Regions from separate parts of the Homo sapiens genome. Here region 1 is linked to region 2. Evidence: promoter capture Hi-C in 16 types of primary human blood cells and fetal thymus (Javierre and others, 2016). All regions are on one chromosome and are shown on one strand. Each heading gives the region's core, a stretch centred on a gene start or on the middle of the fragment in contact. The rest is flanking DNA. Distances are from core to core; before and after follow the strand shown.

Region 1 (7,408 bases), core at 3,187-5,686, 900 kb before region 2:
CTTTGTCCCAGGCCTCTTTTTTCTCTTACTGGTCTCTCCCCAGGCCTCATCTGCACTCTTGGGTTCAGCTACCTACTTTAGTGAACATACCCTAAAACGTATTTCCCCAACCCTCATCTCATACAAGTCTTACTGCTCTCCTTTCACTCCATGCTTCCCTTTCCTTTTCCCACTCGAGATGGAGCTTCCACCACCTGCTTTGCCCAGTTAGCAAATGTGTATCCTTCATTTTGTCCCAGAGAGCACACCTTCACAGAAGCCCACTAGAGCACCCAGCTAGCTCATACCCATTCTTTCATGATTATCTATTGATTTGTTTGGTTATTGAATAATGACCGTATCCTGAACTCAATTTCCAGCTTCGAAAAAGCACAGACCTTGATCTAGATTTTCTCCTAATGTTCCATGTGCATAGTTTGTAGTCAATAGTATGTATTCAGATATTTGTTAGGTGAATGAGCCTTAATCATTTTTGACATTTTAGGTTATGTGACATTCTCTCCCCAGTACCACCTCAGGCTCGATGATTTGCCTGAAAGTCAAAATTCAGAAAAGAAAGTCACACACAACTCAGAAAAGCTGTTGTACTCATGGTTACAGTTTATTACCACAAAAGGATAGAGACCAAGATCACCAAAGGTAAAAGGCACATAGGAGGAAATCTGTGAGAAACCAGGCACAATTTTTTTTCTTTTTTCTTTTTCTTTTTTTTTTTTTTTTTTTTTGAGATGGAGTCTCGCTGTGTCACCCAGGCTGGAGTGCAATGGCACAATCTCGGCTCACTGCAACCTCTGCCTCCCAGGTTCAGGTGATCCTCTGCCTCAGCCTCCCAAGTAGCTGGGATTACAGGCATGTGCCACCACACTGGCTGATTTTTGTGTTTTTAGCAGAGATGGGGTTACACCATGTTGGCCAGGCCAGTCTGGAACTCCTGACTTCAAGTGATCCACCCGCCTTGGCCTCCCAAAGTGCTGGGATTACGGGTGGAAGCCACTGTGTCCAGCACAGGCACAAACTTAGCAGGTGTTCCCTCCCAGTGCAGTTGCACAAGGGCACACTGAATTCTCCCAGCAAAGTTGTGTGCAACACATTCACAGTATTGCCAGCCAGGGAAGCTCCCCCAAGCCTTGACGTCTAGAGTTTTCGTTAAGGGTCATTGAGGTAGGAATGCAGAACCCACATGAATAACCATAAATATCCAGTCTACAACCCTTGCAGAAAACAAACATATAGCATGGCCCAGGGCCTCATGCATGCAAAAGCCAGCATCCACCATGAATCATATTGTTAGCATAAATTATCTGGTCAAACGTGCAGCAGGACCTACTTATGGTTTTCGACATAAAAATCTTACCAGGCAAGATACCCCAAGAGGTTGTTTTCCTGAAGTTGGCCCTAATTCATTCTAGGGTCAGATATCAGATAGCTGCGGACAGTGCCTGTGTCCTAAAACCTGCCAACATTATTCACAGTAGCAAATCCTATTCTGTTTATGCTGCCCCTGCCCTGCCTTGCCTTGCCTTTCTGGTGGAAAACACAGCGCAGGCTCTGGGCCTTGCTTTCTCCTCTGCTGCTGCTTTCTAACCTGCTCTGGTGCTTCCACCCGCATGGTGTGCTCTGCCTCCTGTTTCTAGGGATCTCTTACTATAAACTTCCTCCATAATAATCACTTCTGTATCTGATTGTCACACCCTGCCTGACTAAATACAATCCCAGGTATATTCTAGAATACACAGGGAGCCTATTACAACATCCTTGGGCCAGGCGCAGTGGCTCGCGCCTGTAATCCCAGCACTTTGGGAGGCTGAGGCAGGACTGCTTGAGCCCAGGAGTTCAAGACCAGCCTGGGAAATATAGTGAGACCCCATCTTTAAAAAGAATAAATTTTTAAAAATTGGCTGGATGTGGTGGCATGCACCTGTGGTCCCAGCTACTTGGCAGGCTTAGGTGGAAGAATTGCTTAAGCCTGGGAGTTCGAGGCTGTAGTGGGCCATGATGGTGTCACTGCACTCCAGCCTGGGTGGAAGAGTGAGACTTTGTCTCAAAACTAAAAATAAAAATATGACCTCCTTACTGTGGCCTCCAGGACACTACAGAATTCACGTCCATCTATCTCTGTGATTCAGTTTATCTTCAGCTGCAGCCATACTAACCTTGTTGCACTTCCCCAAACACGACAGGATCCTCCTGCTTTCATTCCCTTGTCTTAGGTGCTCTCTCTATGAGACCCTGTTACCTCAGATGCTCCATTCCTCCAAGTCCATGCTCAGATATAACTGTCTTTTAGACATTTCCCAACTACTCTACCTCCCTCTAACCTTCTATATTGTTTACTTTTGTGGTTGTGGTTGTTCTTTTTGAGTTACTGATTGTTGGAATTAAAAGGTCCCCGAGGGCCAGGGACAGTGGCTCACGCCTGTAATCCCAGCAATTTGGGAGACTGAGGTGGGTAGATCATCTGTGGTCAGGAGTTCGACACCAGCCTGGCCAAAATGGTGAAACCCTGTCTCTACTAAAAATACCAAAATTAGCCGGGCGTGGTGGTGTGCACCTGTAGTCCCAGCTACTTGGGAGTCTGAGGCAGGAGAATTGGTTGAACCTGGGAGGCAGAGGTTGCAGTGAGCCGAGATCGCACCACTGCACTCCAGCCTGGGCGACAGAGTGAAACTGCATCTCAAAAAAAAAAAAAAATTCCTCAAGTACAGGAATGCATAATTATTTTGCTATGTACATATCTGATTTTTTAGAGCAGTGCCTGTTGCAAGATAGGCACTCAATCGATACTCATTAAATTAACAATATACACATATATAAAACAGCACTTTCACATGGTTATGAGTGACCTAAGGAAAAACAGAACAGGATGACGTTGTAGTGGGGGCTGTTTTAAATTGACAGTTTGGAGCTGGGCGCAGTGGCTCACACCTGTGATCCCAGTATTTTGGGAAGCCGAGGCGAGTGGATCACCTGAGGTCAGGAGTTCGAGACCAGCCTGGCCAACATGGTGAAACCCTGTCTCTACTAAAAATACAAAAATTAGCCGGGCATGGTGGCAGGTGCCTGTAATCCCAGCTACTCAGGAGGCTGAGGCAGGAGAAATGTTTGAACCTAGGAGGCGGAGGTTGCATGAGCTGAGTTCGAGCCACTGCACTCCAGCCTGGGTGACAGAGCAAGACTCCGTCTCAATAAACAAACAAACAGACAGGTTTGGGAAAGCCTCTGAGAAAGGAATGGTTGGCCTGAGCTAAGCGCCATTACCCTGATCCACCTATTGTAACCACCTAATGGGTTCATTATTTTCCCTGCTCCCCAGATAGAGTCGACTTATCAAGACAGGATAATTGCAATAAAGGGTTTAATTCACATCAATCGAGCTAAATGAGAGACCAGAGTTTTATTACTCAAATAGGTCTCCCCAAATATTTTGAGACGAGCTTTTTTGTTTTTGGGTTTTTTTGTTTTTGTTTTTGTTTTTTTTGAGACAGAGTCTCGTTCTCCTTCTGTCGCCCAGGCTGGAGTGCAGTGGCATGATCTTGGCTCACTGCAACCTCCGCCTCCAGGGTTCAAGCGATTCTCTTGCCTCAGCCTTTTGAGTAGGTGGGATTACAGGCATGCGCCACCACACCCGGCTAATTTTTGTAGTAGAAACGGGGTTTCGCCCTGTTGGCCAGGCTGGTCTCGAACTGCCTACCTCAGGTGATCCGCCCGCCTCGGCCTCCCAAAGTGCTGGGATTACAGGCATGAGCCATCACGCCAGGCCTTCAATTATATTTCTGCAAGATATGTTCCCTGTCTAAAAGAATTCAATTTTTAATGTTTTTGAAACTTATGTGTTTGCTAAACAAATACGTGGGGGCTGATTTTACGATCTGAGGCCAAATCCACAAACTGATTACAGGGTCCAACAAATATTTGGCGAGTGGGAGGAGAGGGGTAAGTGAGCTGGACTGGTGGCGTCCTGGCTGTGAGCAGGCACAGCCGCAGGCTTCAGGGAGCCCCATCGCGGTGACCCTGGAGAGTGGCCTGAATCGGACGTGACCTTGAAGCAAGGTGGTTTTGGGGTCGCCGGCTGCACAAGGCGCGAAGTGGTTTAGGGTCACGGGCTGCACGAGGCTCCAGCACGTCAGGAGTGGGCGTCTGTTCATTCCCACGTGCATCGCGGCTCTCTCCTAGTTGACGCATGCACACCCCGTGGGTGTATGCGTTGTTCATTCCCACAACGGCCATCACCACCTCTCCGCACCCTCTGTCTCCTTCCTTCTCGGGCCTCACCCCTGGCCCTCGCTTTCAGTGCCCAGCCCGGACCGCAGCACTCCAGTTCCGCCCCAACCCGGGAACCCTGGACTGAGGCTCCCGTTTCTGTCCTTTCTATTGGGCGCACTTCCGATGGCGTCAGGAATTTCAGCCAATAGGAGCCAGCCAGGAAGTACCTCTCTGAGCGGTTGGTGCCGGGTATAAAAGAAGGCCGCGCAGCCACGGCTGCTCACGACGCCGCGGATCCCGAAGCCTGTGTAGCAGTGAGACATCAGTGAGGCTGCAGGACGAGCAGGATTGGAAGCGCCCCGGCCAGAAAGTGACCCCCCACCCCTTTCAGGACCCTGTGAACGGGAACAGCCATCCAGAGGGTTCAGGAAGGCGTCCGCGCCCTCACCTCTTCTCCCCATGAGCTCCCCCAGAGCTGTGGTGCAGCTGGGCAAAGCTCAACCTGCAGGCGAAGAGTGTGAGAGCCAGCGCCAGAGAAAGGACGCAGGGAAGGCTGGGGACTGGGCCAGGGGTCGGGTGCACAGAAGACACATGTGTTGACATCTCCCCTCCCTCTCCTCCTCCCCAACGCTCTTCTTTTCTCCCCACTCCCTCCCTTCCCTCCAATTCTTTCTTTCACCTCTCCCTCCCCTACTCTCTCCTCCCCTTCCTTTCTCTCTGCCTCTTCTTCACCTCCTCCTCCCCTCCCTACCTTACCTTACTCTTTCTTCTTCCCCTTACCTCTCCCTCCCCCTCTCCCTGCCTTCCCCTTCCCTCTCTTTCTCTCCTCCCCTTCTTCCCCTCACCTCTCGCTCCCTATTCCCTTCTCTACTGTTCTCCTCTCCTCTCTTTCTCTCCCCTTCTCCTTCCCTCCCCTCTCCCTTCCTATCTCCCTCCTCCTCCTCTCTTTCAGTGGCTACAGCAAACCAAACAGCCCAGCAGCCCAGCAGCCCAGCCATGTGAGTCCCTTGGGATTGGTATCTGGAAAAGGAAGGAAGGTGGGACGTGGGGATGAAGAACAGACTGGGTGTGTGGGGTGCTGGCTCCTGGGAACGAGAACTACTGATAGGGCTGGGTCTGTGTGAGAAGGGAAAGCGGCAGAGGAAGGATACAATGAAAGAGGAAGGGGAGCATTGGCATCCCTGACTTTCCCTCCGCCTACCCTACCTCCCAAGCTGAGGCTTTTTTCTTCCTCTCCTGTCAGGCGGCGCCTCACAGTCGATGACTTTGAAATCGGGCGTCCCCTGGGCAAGGGGAAATTTGGGAATGTGTACCTGGCTCGGCTCAAGGAAAGCCATTTCATTGTGGCCCTGAAGGTTCTCTTCAAGTCGCAGATAGAGAAGGAAGGACTGGAGCACCAGCTGCGCCGGGAAATTGAGATCCAGGCTCATCTACAGTAAGGACAGTCTCTGCTTCCTCTTTCATCTTTGACGTCTGAGCCCAGCATTTTCCCCAAATACTAACCCCAAGTAAACCCTGCACTTGTACCTTGAAGACTTCTCTGCAGTTCATTCCATTTACACTACCTCCTACCCTGGGTCAGACACTCGAATCCTGGTTCCTGTTCTCCGTTCTCCCCTCACTTGCTCCCAGATAGGGCTGTTGTTATTCTGGTCCCAGCATAATTTGCCACTTGTGTGACCAGGCAGTGACGGTGGCATCATATGATAGGCCTCAGGGAGAAATCTGACTCTTCCAACATTAATCCTTCAGACACCCCAATATCCTGCGCCTGTATAACTATTTCCATGATGCACGCCGGGTGTACCTGATTCTGGAATATGCTCCAAGGGGTGAGCTCTACAAGGAGCTGCAGAAAAGCGAGAAATTAGATGAACAGCGCACAGCCACGGTGAGGTGCGGGTCTGGAGGCTCTGGGGTCTCTGAGTTTACTGTGGGCTGGTGGGAGCTCTGTTTGTGGCTGTCAGGAGGGTCCGCATTGCCTTCTGAGAAGTTTACTTCTGAATGTTATTGTGTAAATTTAATATAATGGCACGTATGTTCTACAGCTTTATCCTTGGATACCCTAATTAACCTCATTGTATCTCCAGAATATTAATAAGTACTGCGTATAGGTTTGGATTCTTTGGTTATAAGCAACAGAATCTAACTCCACTGCCTTATGTAAAGAAACATATTGAAAGGCTCTGAAGGAGTTCACTGAATAAATAGCTAGAACTGGCTTAGAGATAGGTACAAAGAGATTTCTAGAGGGTTCCGGAAAGGGAACCATGGCAATGATTTTCCCAGGAGCAATGGTCCAATCAGCTTGCTGTGTCAGGATGAGTGGTCTTCCATCTTTCCTCCTGTTTCTGTTTCACTTCCTCGGGCCTCAAGTCCTGTGAGAGATCATCTGAGTGGCTCAATGTAGGTTCTATGTCTGGCTACTTGCTGTGCTAGGACAACAGGGAGGATCTGTGTCCATGTTACCATCCATCCTATAAGACCACATAAAAAGGAGAGGAAAACCACACCCCACACACCAGTAACTGGTGCAATTTAAAAGGAGGAAATGGAGTTACTGGACCAAAAAGATTCCACTGTAATCATACAATTCATGGTAAGTGTTCCACCTCAGACGGAAATTGTGGCAGGCTTCACTTCCAGGGTGACTTTTCTTTGCACCCACAGATAATAGAGGAGTTGGCAGATGCCCTGACCTACTGCCATGACAAGAAAGTGATTCACAGAGATATTAAGCCAGAGAACCTGCTGCTGGGGTTCAGGGGTGAGGTGAAGATTGCAGATTTTGGCTGGTCTGTGCACACCCCCTCCCTGAGGTAGGTCAGGTGGTGGTGGTAGGGTGAGTTCTGAGTACCAGTTAGGAATGACCCAGTTTAATGTATTTCATGTGTCCATGTGTAAAACCTAGATACGAACTTGGGGTTTCTATTGGAATACTGCCTTTTTCTTTTCTTTTCTTTTCTTTTTTTTTTTGAGACAGAGTCTAACTCTTTCACCCAGGCTGGAGTGCAGGGGCACAATCTCGGCCTCCCAGGTTAAAGCGGTTCTACTGCCTCAGTCTCCCAAGTAGCTGGGATAACAGGCATGTGCCACCACACTCGGCTAATTTTTGTATTTTTAGTAGAGACAGGGTTTTGCTATGTTGGCCAGGCTAGTCTCGAACTCCTGACCTCAGGTGATCCGCCCACCTTGGCTTCCCAAA
Region 2 (7,736 bases), core at 2,509-5,008:
GCACCATCCCATCCTGACTCCAGAGGGTTCAACAAGGGTCCCCGCTAGTCCTCCATGCCCCTGCACCTCTCACCATGAGATCACCATATCCCAATGTGTGTGGGGGAGCTTTACTTCTCTAAATGCTCTTTCAGGGCCACTCTTCCCTTCTTCACTCCGTGCCTCCATTACCTATCTACTCATTCCTCTCTCAGGACTGGCTGCCCACCCTTCCCATGACACAGCTATCAGAGGCATACCAAGGTTGGCTGCCTCATGGGAGACAGCAAGTGCCATGGAGGCCACAGCTGATGCCAGACAAAAGAGAACACACACAGAGAAGGAGGCATGGCTGCTTGAAGCTCCCCACGAGCTGGCCTGAGGGTCCGGACCTCAGAATACCAGCACCATGGAGACACCAGGTCACACACACATGAACCTTGATCCAGCTAATACAATGGGCCTGGCTGACCCCAGTCCTGGACTGACTCATCACTAATCTTCACTATCGTCACACCTGTCCCTTCTCCCAGGAGAGGAAATTGTCTAGAGGCAAAATCCCAAGGGGATCCACTCATGGGGCTTCAAGGCTGTGTCATCCACCTTGACTGGCTTTCACTCGGCCAGTACTGCACTGCCTCGGAAGGGCCACTCCAAAGTCATCCCAAATTTTCTACAGGCTTCCTGTTCTCCATTCTCTGGGACTCACTCTCTCTTCTACACTGACAACCCCTTATAACCCAAGTCCCAAAGAAGGAAGTTATTCTCATGCCCTGGGCTTTGGGATGCTGATTCCAGAGACGCTACTGCCCAATGCCCCTCCATCCACACTTACAGCTTCCCTGTTGCCCTGATCCAGTCCCTACTACTAAAGGTCCAAAGAAACCCCAAATTAACCTCCTTTTGGCTTCACTTTTTAATTTATTACCAAATTATTATGCCAACAAGTATCTGTAACAGAGAAAAAAATATGATACAAAATTCCAGTCCCCAAAGAAAACCACATTTTATTTCTCCATCATCCACTTTCAACATACATCCATATGTGCACATATTTTTACATGGCTGGAATAATAGTAAATCTTCTATTTGATGCCCCTTTTTGCCATATTATAAACATTTTCAACATGGCAATAAAACCTTTATAATGGTTCACAGTGGCTGAATTAGAAGCATCCTAAATGAACAACCATGGAGGTAGTGGTGGGGTGATAACATAAACATAACAACTCAGTATTTTTGCTTCAACAACTAAAGCAACAAACCACATCTGTTAGAAGCAGCCCTTTCCATCTTAGCACAAGCTTGTTTCAGTCTTTTTTTTTGAAATGGAGTCTCGCTCTGTCACCCAGGCTGGAGTGCAGTGGTGCGATCTTAGCTCACTGCAACCTCCACCTCCCAGGTTCAAGCAATTCTCCTGCCTCAGCTTCCCAAGTAGCTGGGATTACAGGCACACACTACTATGCCCAGATAATTTCCTGTATTTTTGGTAGAGATGGGGTTTCACCATGCTGGCCAGGCTGGTCTTGAACTCCTAACCTTGTGATCTGGCCGCCTCGGCCTCCCAAAGTGCTAGGATTACAGGCGTGAGCCACCACATCTGGCCTGCTTGTTTCAGTCTTAAGAGGAACGACTTCATTGTTCATTCACAGGTAATTTATTCACCTAGTTTGCCCTCCTGCAACGAGTCCTCAGCATTATTGCAGGAGTATAATGCAGACATACATTCAAACAGGAAAATCTCACACATTCTGTGGTGTGTGCAGTACAGCACTGTGTGGACTCTCTCATTGTACACCTTTGTTGTTACAGAAAACACAGTAAGAGCCCCTGCCAAAGCCTCTCTTTCTGATTACACTTAAAAAAGGTTGATTCAGGCCAGGCAGTGTCTCATGCCTGTAATCCCAACACTTTGGGAGGCTGAGGTGGGCGGATCATGAGGTCAGGAGTTCAAGACCAGCCTGGCCAACACAGTGAAACCCTGTCTCTACTAAAAATAGAAAAAATTAGCCAGGCATGGTGGCAGGCACCTGTAATCCTAGCTACTTTGGAGGCTGAGGCAGGAGAACTGCTTGAACCTGGGAGGCAGAGGTTGCTGTGAGTGGAGATCATGCCACTGCACAGTGAGACTCTGTCCGAAAAAAAAAAAAAAGTTGATTCAGTGTTTGCTTACGTACAAGGTGGAAACTCCCTACTACAGGGCTCTTCATTCCAATCATGTTCTGAATGCATTCACAGGTTCTCTCTGTGGTGTCACCCCCATGTTTGCACATTTCATTCCAGTGTGTGTGTTGTCATGTCTGGTACAGACTGAATCATCCCCAAAGACTTTTCTGCCCTCATCCTAAGTTGTCTCTGGAGTTCCCCAATGAGCAGACTTAACAGTGTGGCTCAGCAATGTCTCACATTCATCAATTCACTGGATAGCTTAAAGGATTCTTTTCTACTGACCAGAGAGGAGTCAGATCTAAGACACGCCTCCTAAACACAGGAGTGAGAGTGAACTGGAAGACTCATGTGGCCCCCAACCATTATGTTTCCATGGGTTGCTCTCCCAGGTGTGCTCTTTGATGTCGAACAAGGGATGAGCTCTTTTGGAACATTTTTCCACACTGAGGACACCGGCTGGGACCCTCCCTGCTATGGAGTCTCTGATGTACTGCCAGGTGAGAGTTCTGCTTGAAGGACTTCCCACATTCTGGACACTGATATGGGGTCTCCTTAGTGTGAATTCTCTGGTGCTTGGTCAGACAGGAGCTGTCCCTGAAGGCTTTGCCACACTGATTACACTCATAGGGCTTCTCACCAGTATGAGTCCTCTGGTGCCTAATGAGGCCAGCGATATTCCTGAAAAGTTTCTGACACTGGTTGCAGCCATAGGGCTTCTCGCCAGTATGAATCCTCTGATGCCTGATGAGGTACGCACTCTCGATGAAAGTCTTGCCACATTCTTTACATTCATAGGGTTTCTCCCCAGAATGGATCTTTTGATGCACAATGAGGTGAGAGTTTCTGTTGAAGGATTTCCCGCACTCTGCACACTCAAAGGGCTTTTCTCCAGTGTGAGTCCTCTCATGCTGGGTGAGGTACGAGCCGTCCCGGAAAGCCTTTCCACATTTGCTACACTCATAGGGCTTCTCACCGGTGTGGATTCTGAGATGCACTGTAAGGTGGGAGATGTCAGTGAAGGGTTTCCCACATTCGTTACATCTATATGGTTTTTCCCCTGTATGAGTTCTTTGGTGCAAAATTAAGGATGAATTTCGGTTGAAGGTTTTTCCACACTCTAGGCATTCATAAGGTTTCTCGCCTGTGTGAATTCTCTGGTGCTGTGTCAGAGCTGAGCCATCACTGAAAGCTTTCCCACATTTACTGCATTCATAGGGCTTCTCTCCTGTGTGGATTCTTTGATGCACAATCAGGTTGTAGTTCTTGGAGAAGGACTTTCCACACTCATTACAAGTATAAGGCTTCTCTCCGGTGTGAGTTCGGTGATGCAAAACAAGAGAAGAGTTCCGTTTGAAGCATTTGCCACATTCAGTACATCTATATTGTTTCTCTCCAGGGAGATTTCTCTGGTTTTCATTAAGCGATGAGCTCAGAGTAAAGATGTTCTCAAAATTCTTACCTTCATACGATTTCTTGCCTCTTTTCATTATTTTCTGATGACCAAGAGAGGTAAAATGATTAAAAGACTTAACACTTTCAGGGTATTTGTAGGGCTTCTCTCTCACTGGATTTCTTCCATGAATAACTTCCATGGAATGGTTGAAGCCTTTTCCACAGGCATCACTGTCACCAGTTCTCTTATCTGCATAACTTTTAGGATAGCTGGGTAAGGCGGGGTCACAATCCAGACCACTAACATTTGAGTCAGGTGCATGGAAACCATTTGTTGCCAGAACTCTCTGAGACGGTGGAAGGTCTGAGCTTGCAATCAAATGCTCCCCAAAACCAGGATATTCACAAATTGCTTCCTGAGTCCCTGGTTTCTCCAGAGTTAAAGCTGATTGCCTCAAGTGTCCCTCCTGGTTCTCACAGTCCCAACCATCACCTAAACTGGACAAGCAGGGAACTTCCCTTGTGAATCTTTCCACTTCTACATCACAGGGTACTTCTCTCTCAGGAAAATTCCGAGTCGTCATTTTCAATCTCATATCCCAAACTGCAAAAAGAAGAAAAATGCAGACTTAGGTATATGAAGCTTTATCTGTAAGAGAAACAGACAATGATGATGGGCTAGGTGTAAAGATGTGTATTTTTTTACTTGTTTTCTCTTTTAAATTCAAATTTATACAAGGAAGAGGTAAAATCGTAGCCAAGGAATGGAACCAAGAACAGATTCAAAAAGAGCCATGTAGCATTTTCATCTTCCTAGAGAGCAGGCAGGAGGAATGGACCTCGGGATAAATCATCACCAAAAGGATTAGTTTGAGATGTGAGAGACCAGAGGCCAAGCATCCCTGCTCCCCCTAGAATTCCATCCCAGCCACTGCATTCTTGTCCCTGTCACACACTGCCCATCAGTACACATTTCCAAAGCTCTGACTTCACAATGAGCTTACAACAGCACTGAAGGAACAGTTCTCACCCCAGCTCTGTCATCAAAGTTCTGCATTCATGGATAGGACAAAGCACAGGCTTGGTGACCTAAAAGTTCTGGGTCTAAGTCTTAGAACTGTCAATGACCTGGCGGGGCACAGTGGTTCACTCCTGTAATCCCAGCACTTTGGGAAGTGGAGGCAGGTGGATCATTTGAAGTCAGGAGTTCAAGACCAGCCTGACCAACATGGTGAAACACCGTCTCTACTAAAAATACAAAAAAAATCAGCCAGGCGTGGTGGCACATGCCTGTAGTCCCAGCTACTCTGGAGGCTGAGGCAGGAGAATCACTTCAACCTGGTAGGCAGAGGTTGCAGTGAGCTGAGATCACACCACTGCACTCCAGCCTACGCGGCAGAGTGAGACTCCATCTCAAAAAACAAAACAAAACAAAAACTGTCAAAGACTGCCCTGCATGGTTGTTATAAAAACTGGATCATGTCGGCCAGGCGCGGTGGTCACGCCTGTAATCCCAGCACTTTGGGAGGCCGAGGTGGGCAGATCACAAGGTCAGGAGATTGAGACCATCCTGGCTAACGTGGTGAAACCCCGTCTCTACTAAAAAAATACAAACAATTAGCCAGGCGTGGTGGCGGGCGCCTGTAGTCCCAGCTACTCGGGAGGCTGAGGCAGGAGAATGGCGCGAACCCGGGAGGCGGAGCTTGCAGTGAGCCAAGATCGTGCCACTGCACTCCAGCCTGGGCCACAGAGCAAGACTCCGTCTCAAAAAAAAAAAAAAAAAAAAACTGGATCATGTACAAAGCAGTCTCCAAGGCTAGGGGATGAAGGGCATTCTGTAAATGGTTGCATGTGTCTTCATGCATATCAATCTTCCTGTCACCATCCTTGTCCATTCAGACTTCACAATATTAAGACAACTGGTTGTCCATTCATTCGTTCATTCATTTGGTGGGATCGGGTCTCGCTCTGTCATTCAGGCTGAAGTGCAGTGGTGTGATCTTGGTTCACTGAAGCCTCAATCTCAAAAACTTCAAGCAATTATCCCACCTCAGCCTCCCAAAATGCTGCAAATACAGGGATGAGCCATTGTGCCCAGCCTTCTTTCTATTTTTTAAGGTAAAATGAAAATAGACCCTTGCCTCAGAATACATACATACATATATGTCTACATTCTAGGCAATTTAAATATATATACATGTATATGTGTATATGTGTGTGTGTGTGTGTGTGTGCGCGTGTATTTACATTTCAGAAGGATACAGGCTGCAACATAAAGTCAAAGTTTAAATAATGTAGTATGCCTTCATAAGTGTGGCAGACTTTGATCAACAAAACTTAACCAAAAAACCATATGGCCAAGCATTGGGGGTCATGCCTGTAATCCCAGCACTCTGGGAGGCTGAAGTGGGAGTTATCACTTGAGCCCACACAGAAGGCTGAGGCTGCAGTGAGCTGTAATTGTGCCACTGCATTCCAGATTGGGCAAAAGAGACCATGTCTTAAAAACAAAAAACAAAAACCAAAAAATAAAAAACAGACAAGGATTAAGAAGTCTGATATCAGCATTCAAATTTTCCATCCAATAAAAGACACAATAAGAGACAAAATGCAAGTGGCAGATAGGGAGAAAATAGGACTTAAAAGCACAAAGAATTATTGCCCAAGAGCTATAGAGGATTCTTACAGAGAGAAAATAAGATTTAAAAGCACAAAGAATTACTGCCCAAGAACTACAGAGGATTCTTACAGAACAGCACATAAAAAGAAAAAAAATGGGCAAAGTAATCAAAGAGCACTTCGTGAAGGGAAAATAGAAATGTCCTGAAAACATTGGCTGGGAGCAGTGGGTCACGCCTGTAATCCCAGCACTTTGGGAGGCTGAGGCAGGTGGACCACAAGGTCAGGAGATCGAGACCATCCTGGCTGACACGGTGAAACCCCGTCTCTATTAAAAATACAAAAAATTAGCCAGGCGTGGTGGCGGGCGCCTGTAGTCCCAGCTACTTGGGAGGCTGAGGCAGGAGAATGGCATGAACCCGGGAGGCAGAGCTTGCAGTGAGCCGCGATAGCGCCACTGCACTCCAGCCTGGGCAACAGGGCGAGACTCTGCCTCAAAAAAAAAAAAAAAAGAAAGAAAAAAAAGAAATGTCCTGAAAACATCAATATTTATTTTCTCATTCTATCATTCAGGCAATTCCAAACTGCGACTTTAAGAACACAAAATATACACATTTCACGTGAGTAAAAATAAAATGAAGTACAATAATATAAAGCTTTGGTAGGTCACAAGGGAAGAGGGCTTGGAAAGTGGTCAGCGTGCTTGGCAGGGTACCTTAGTGGCAGCTGTGAAAACATAAACTGGGGGCAGGCGCGGTGGCTCACGCCTATAATTCCAGCAGTTTGGGAGGCTGAGGTGGGTGGATCACCTGAGCTCAGGAGTTCGAGACCAGCCTGACTAACATGGTGAAACCCCACCTCCACTAAAAATACAAAAATTAAGCCAGGCACAGTGGCTCACGCCTGTAATCCCAGCACTTTGGGAGGCTGAGGCAGGTGGATCACCTAAGGTCAGGAGTTCAAGACCAGCCTGGGCAACTATGTCTCTACTAAAAATACAAAAATTAGCTGGACGCGGTGGCGCATGCATGTAATCCCAGCTACTCGGGAGGCTGAGGTAGGAGAATCGCTTGAGCCTAGGAGGCAGAGGTTGCAGTGAGACAAGATTATACCATTGCACTCCAGCCTGGGGGACAGAGCGAGACTCCGTCTGAAAAAAAAAAAAAAAAAAGAAAACATAAATTAGGTATATTCTACCACCCAGCAGTTCCACTGGTAGGTATCTCAGAGTCAGAAAGCTGGATAAACGAACATCAATCCATACCTACGTAGATAGATGGTCTTTTTCTTTTTTCTTTTTTTTTGAGACAGAGTCTTGCACTGTCACCCAGGCTGGAGTGCAGTGGTGCGATCTCAGCTCACAGCAAGCTCCGCCTCCCAGGTTCACGCCATTCTCCTGCCTCAGCCTCCCCAGTAGCTGGGACTACAGGTGTCTGCCACCACGCCCAGCTAATTTTTTGTACTTTTAGTAGAGACAGGGTTTCACTATGTTAGCCAGGATGGTCTCGAGCTCCTGACCTCGTGATCCGCCCGCCTCAGCCTCCCAGAGTGCTGGGATTACAGGCGTGAGCCACCGC

The links. The method cuts DNA at HindIII sites, captures the fragments that hold promoters and counts their contacts. A CHiCAGO score of 5 or more calls a contact.
Region 1: a contact is called between the fragment with the promoter of AURKC here and a fragment that was not itself captured in region 2, in 1 of 17 cell types (naive CD8 T cells). The highest score is 5.8, in naive CD8 T cells.

The regions. Positions count from the first base shown.
Region 1 is chr19:57,226,587-57,233,994 of GRCh38, forward strand. AURKC (aurora kinase C) reads left to right here and starts at 4,437. Exons shown (of 7, transcript NM_001015878.2): 1 at 4,437-4,720; 2 at 5,156-5,201; 3 at 5,447-5,638; 4 at 5,956-6,094; 5 at 6,874-7,022. The coding sequence starts at 4,663. The HindIII fragment of the contact is 17,293 bases long and covers 1-7,408 here.
Region 2 is chr19:58,125,368-58,133,103 of GRCh38, forward strand. ZNF329 (zinc finger protein 329) reads right to left here. Exons shown (of 4, transcript NM_024620.4): 4 at 881-4,144. The coding sequence starts at 4,136. The coding sequence ends at 2,511. Among named protein-coding and RNA genes, the nearest start is that of ZNF329, 22 kb to the right of the region's middle. The HindIII fragment of the contact is 846 bases long and covers 3,336-4,181 here.